Regions from separate parts of the Homo sapiens genome. Here region 2 is linked to region 1. Evidence: promoter capture Hi-C in 16 types of primary human blood cells and fetal thymus (Javierre and others, 2016). All regions are on one chromosome and are shown on one strand. The core of a region is centred on a gene start or on the middle of the fragment in contact, and the rest is flanking DNA. Distances in the headings are between cores, read along the strand shown. Region 1 holds the start of ATP8A1 (ATPase phospholipid transporting 8A1). Region 2 overlaps GUF1 (GTP binding elongation factor GUF1).

What was found. Contacts are between HindIII fragments. The CHiCAGO score rates a contact against its expected background, and 5 or more counts as called.
Region 2: a fragment that was not itself captured here is called in contact with the fragment with the promoter of ATP8A1 in region 1 in 1 of 17 cell types (naive CD4 T cells); the score reaches 5.2 in naive CD4 T cells.

What each region holds. Positions count from the first base shown.
Region 1 is chr4:42,655,733-42,658,432 of GRCh38, reverse strand. It overlaps ATP8A1 (ATPase phospholipid transporting 8A1), which reads left to right and starts at 1,328. Exons shown (of 37, transcript NM_006095.2): 1 at 1,328-1,608. The coding sequence starts at 1,560. It overlaps ATP8A1-DT (ATP8A1 divergent transcript), which reads right to left and starts at 910. Exons shown (of 1, transcript NR_186688.1): 1 at 86-910. RefSeq lists enhancers at 892-1,101, 2,092-2,141 and a silencer at 1,132-1,601. The HindIII fragment of the contact is 6,451 bases long and covers 1-2,333 here.
Region 2 is chr4:44,691,338-44,694,037 of GRCh38, reverse strand. It overlaps GUF1 (GTP binding elongation factor GUF1), which reads right to left. Exons shown (of 17, transcript NM_021927.3): 13 at 2,239-2,372. Among named protein-coding and RNA genes, the nearest start is that of GUF1, 14 kb to the right of the region's middle. The HindIII fragment of the contact is 2,261 bases long and covers 270-2,530 here.

The DNA.
Region 1 (2,700 bases), core at 79-2,578:
TTGACTGCCTGAGTATTAATGTAGGGCAGGGCTCTGATTAGCAAGTGCTACCTGCAGGAAGCAGAAGAAATACCACAAATGGAGATAGGACGCTATTAGCAGATTTTATTTCATTTTTTCCTGAGGCTTGGAAATAATCACTTCTCTCTCAGGTCAAACCTCTCCAGCTCTCTCCCTTCAGGATGTGAAAAGATCTCAAATAAAAGGCCTCTATGTGAGGATCTCTTTCGCTGGTTGCTGGAGGAAGAGCATGAAATGAGGGAAGAAGCAAATTGCTTCTGATTTATTGTTTCTGGTTTATTCCTTTCCTGCCAGTTCAGCAGCTCGCCAGAAACAGCACAAAACCTTACATCTTAACTTGAAGGTGAAGTATTTGTTTTGACAACTTTTTAGCATAGATCTCGGTATACAAAATAAAAGGTAATGAGGCTATGATAGTCTGAAGGACATCGGCAAATTAAAATTTAACATATTTATGGATTTTATACAAAGACTCCTCTCCCCTTTGCAGATAAAACGACTGCATCCAACTTTATGCAGATTTAACTAAAAGAAAAAAAAAAAGTCTTTTGTGAACCACCTGGGCCAATACTTAGTTGGCTTAATTGCTATTTCAGTGCCTTGTCAGGCTGCAGAGCCTGAACTAGGGAGATGCACCGGGCCCACTTGCAGGCGGGGCCCAGATGCACCCAAGCCCCATGGACAAGAGCACCATGGGCACCAGGGGCCTCCCGACCTGGCAGCCTGTTGCTAGTGGGCGAGGCAGGAGGACAAGTGCGGCTCAGGCCACGAGTCGGGCTGGGCGTGCAGAGAGGTTAGAATTACACCCAGATGGCGAACAGTCAGTCGTTCCTTTCCTGCTCTGGCTGGGAGCTAAACCTTGTAGTCCCAGACCCTTTCGCCTTCGCCTGCCGGCTCAGACCCAACAGCTCTTTCCGGACGACGGGCGGCTCCACTGCGATCAAAAGCCAGGGGTAGCGGGAGGGGATTCGTGAGAATGCAGCAGCCAGAGCAGTCTTTCCTTTCTGAGCAAGATGTGAGAGAGTCCGAGTGGCCTGGAGGAGGAACCGGGTCAACCAACTCCACAGGGCGGAGCGAAAACGCTGGAGGACTAAGGAGGCTAAGAGTTGATCCCCCCTTTGAGTCGTGATACGGTCCGAAGCGGGGCGGGGCGGGGCGAAGGAGGCTCCCCCTGGCTCTCCCCGCCCCTCACCCGCCTTCCTTGCTGAGCGGCCGCGGGAGGGGGAGCGCGAGCCCCGCAGGCCCCTCCCCCGGCGCCGGCGCCCGAGCTCCGCCCCTCGCCGAGCCGCCCCTCCGCGGCTGCAGCAAGAGCTCGCCCAGCTCTGCGGGCGCCGCCACCTTCGCCGCCACCGCTGCCTTTCTCCTCCTCCTGTCGGCGTGCGGGGGCCGCGCCCGGCGGCAGCTCTGCCCTAGGTGGGCGGCGGCGCGGCCCAGGCTGCAGCTGAGCGCTCTGCGCGGCGCAGCCGGGTCTCCCGCGTGTACCACGCCGTGACAGGTGCAGAGTCCGGGCTGAGGACCCACCTGCAGCCGCCGCCGCGATGCCCACCATGCGGAGGACCGTGTCGGAGATCCGCTCGCGCGCCGAAGGTAAGGGGCCGCCGAGGCTCGGGGCTAGCCCGGGGTCGGGAAGCGAGTGTGTGTGTGAGCGTGTGTGTTTATCCTGGAAGAGACCGCATCCTACCTCTTCCCCGGCGGCAGTCCGACTGTCGCGCCCGGCCCCTAGGGGACCCTTCCCCCCGCGCTGCCCCCAGTGTACTCGCAGACCCTTTCCAGGCTCCAGTACCCTCGAATGGGTGTTCTCCGCGGGAGCCCCGAGGCGTGCTTTGCACCGCAGTGTGACCATTAGGTCCCAGTCACTGAGCTCACTCGCCCTGCCCACCTCCCTCCCCACCAGTTCGATTTCCACTCAGCAGATCCCCAGCCCGCCGCCCCTGCCTCCGGCGCCCACCGTTTTGCAACCCCCTATCTGAGCTCCCAGCGAAGCGAGTTTGCTTTTCCCCGGCTGCAGGATCCTTTGATCCGTAGTCCCTTGGCTCTCGAAGCGCGGGGAGCCTTCATCGGGGTCGGGTGCCGAGTGGGTTCCCTGCATTACAGCTTCTGCAATTCTGCCTCCTGCAGCGGAGTCCCACCGGCTCGCGTCTGAGGTTTCGTTTTTGTGTTTCCCTTTTGCCCGAAACCCTCACTTCGGCCAGCTGAGCTGACTTTTCAGCCAGGTGGAAGCTGTTTTCTTTGCTCCACCTGGGGCCAGCTCTTGAATGGCCATGGTTGTCAACACTGAGCAACAGATGCTCCGGGGTAGAAGCAAGTAAGCTTTCCGAGGGCCCAGACTCTTCATCGTCTCCGAGGAGCCCTCAACATCCTGCCTGCCATGTGGCAGGCACTCTGTAAATATTATTTGATTTTGCTCGCGTCAAAGCCAAGACTGTAAATATCCCAAGGTTTGTTTGTCCTCTCCCATAAACCTGTACTTGAATCCTGCAGAGGGTGGAATAACATGTTTTTCAGAAATCTATCTTGCCATCATCGCTGATTCCCACTCTTCCTCCCCACCTCCATCTTTTAATGTGAGACAGGTGGTGAAGTGGTTTTAGAAAAATATATAAGTTAGGAGAATTGGATTTCAGGGATGGAGACAGGCCATTTTTTCTCCTTAGGGGCTCCCTGTAAAAATAGGGTCCC
Region 2 (2,700 bases), core at 151-2,650, 2.0 Mb before region 1:
TTTAACTTTCTATTACCAATGACAACTCTATGTTTAAATAAATGCTATGACACTCATAAAATGCCATTAATAAATGAGACCTTTGGATTTCCTATTTGGCTCTTCAGCTTGCATCTCCCTTCACAGGGCTTTTGTGAGGATTAAATGAGTTAATACATGTAAACCAATTAGAGCAATGCCTAGTACATAATAAGTGTTTAAACAGAGCCTAGCTTAGCACACACAAGCACTTAGTTTCAGCTATTACTTTTAACAATGTGGTCAAAGCTTGTAATGTTAGTCAAAACAGACATTTAAATGTTTCACTTATAAAACTGAAGTCTAAAGAAAATTTCAATTAGGCTTACAAGTTGTCCCAATCACAGACAAGAATATGTATACTCCTATTGTCTTAATTTTAAAACAATTGGTGCCTGGACTTGCAAAATTATATTTGGTTTCTAAAGATTTTCAGCAGGAAGGTCATAAAGTGACAATAATACACTCTATTAACAGATTATTTTCAGAAGTACTGTTAAAATCCTTTCTTTCTTCAGGAAGCATCACTTATACATTTACTGTATGAAAGATACCATGTTAAGTATCATACAGAATACAAAGCAAATAGAGAATAAAACAGACATGGTCCTTAACTTTGAAGTTGTTACAGCTCCAGCTATGTTGTGGTCCAAAATATTAAAAATCTTAAAAATTTCTTAACTCATTTTTTCAAAAGAAATCATTATAAAAATTGTGTTTTTGTTTCCAAGCAGTCCAATTGATACCTAACCTCTATTGAAAACATAGGTATTCTAGTGTTTCCTTAGAATGCAGGAAACACATTTGTAATTCCAAAAAGCTACTAGTTGCTGTTGATTCTTGCCTCCTGGTATGAAATAAGTTTTTTCCTGATCTTAATTCATAGTCTATGATGACTTTCTGTTAAGTGTGGAATTGACTGCCTATGTAAAACATCCATCTTGAACATAATTACCTTAATGCTGGAAGCTGGAATATTTTATTTTTATGTAGTTCAAAAATAAATCATGTTCTCTCATTAAATTCAAAATGTATTTAAGTTTCCAAACGACAAGGCTTTTTAAGACCACTTATAATTCAGAAAGTAGTACCCAAATGCAAACTAAAATTGACAGACTTCTGTTAAAAATATTTATAAACATTAAACCTACTAATCTTCCTTTCAACTCTAGTAATTTTAATATGCCCCTCAATTCATTTTACTTTAAATTCCATTGCCACTTACTTGCTCAAGGTCTTGTCTGAAAGAAGACATAGAAGAAGAAAAAACTGGGTGACAAAGTAGAAGAAAATTCTCAATACAAAGGAACATGAAGATTCCTTGGTAAGAAGAATTATATATGCTAACTCTCTTCACTGACAAGATGATTAAATAAAGTTAAACTTCCAAGTCACTGTAGCATGTTTGTTAAACACTGGAATTTGTCTCTGCATGTTAACATTAACATTCATGCACTGTGTGGGAGTTTTATAGATGTCAATGTTCATTTTTCCCCTCCTGCTTCCCCATGTTTCACATCTGTTTTCTATATATACTATCCCGTAACATAAGATTTTAGGGCATAGTGAGGGTATCTAGAGTTATATGCCCCAACAACAACAACAACAACAAAAAACAGCCTCTCAGAATGCTATGCCCTGAGTTTCTTATTTGTTATTTAATAGTAACTCTCCTTTCACTTTTATCTGGCTTTTCTCCATGTACTCCTATGAGATACACAAAGGTTTTCGTGATGAGGACAACCTGTTCCTCAAAAGACTAAGTTATTAAAGTGTTCACTAATGGAGCGGCACATCTAACATTTTTTACAGACTGAATATGCACTTTTATTTTTCAAATGTAAATAGATGCTCTTGAGATTGCATAACATAAATATACATTTTAAAAGTGCCACTGAGGTTATGGTAAATTTTTGAAATTAGGTCTAATTCTTAACAGACAAGGAATACAGCTCTTCATGAAAAGGGGACTAACTTTTTTTGTTAAAAGAGAAATAAAAGTTAGATAATAAATCAAAGGAAACTTTTCTCCTATAAGCAAATCACAAGTAGTCTGTAACACCTATAAAGTTGTTCCAAGTCATTCTAACCTTAGAGTATGATTCTCAACTATCTTCAAGAAAGCTGAAATTACTAAATAAATGAAGAATTAGTATACCCTTGCTCATCAATATTTCAAAAAAGTTGGTCAGGCATCTTAGGTTCTCATTATTTTTTTACCTAGCATATCCAGAAGATAGGGATTTCAAAGAGTCATAAAAATCTACCACAATTTCATTCAAAGGAAAGAGATATTTAAGCATAACTCTATTTTGATCAATAAATATCATATTCTTCTGAACTGCTCTTCGAGCCTAAAAAGGGAAGGAAGAAAATGGGTTTAATGATAACCTACTCAAATACTGAGGAATGATGTATTTCTCTAAAGGTCTAGTAAAAACTTATAGGCAGTATTTATAATCCAGAGAGAAACATTTTATATTTCAATTGCATTAGGCTTGCTACCAAAGCTTTTAATCTTTATCTAACAATTTTATCTTTTAAAATGAACACTATTTCATTTAACAGTAAATCAAATGTAACTACATATAAAGTCAAAAGTCCTAATTTCTTGTTTTACAAATAATTAGGTCCAGAGAAATTAAAAGTTAAGACCAAGATTACAATCTAGTTTTTAACCTA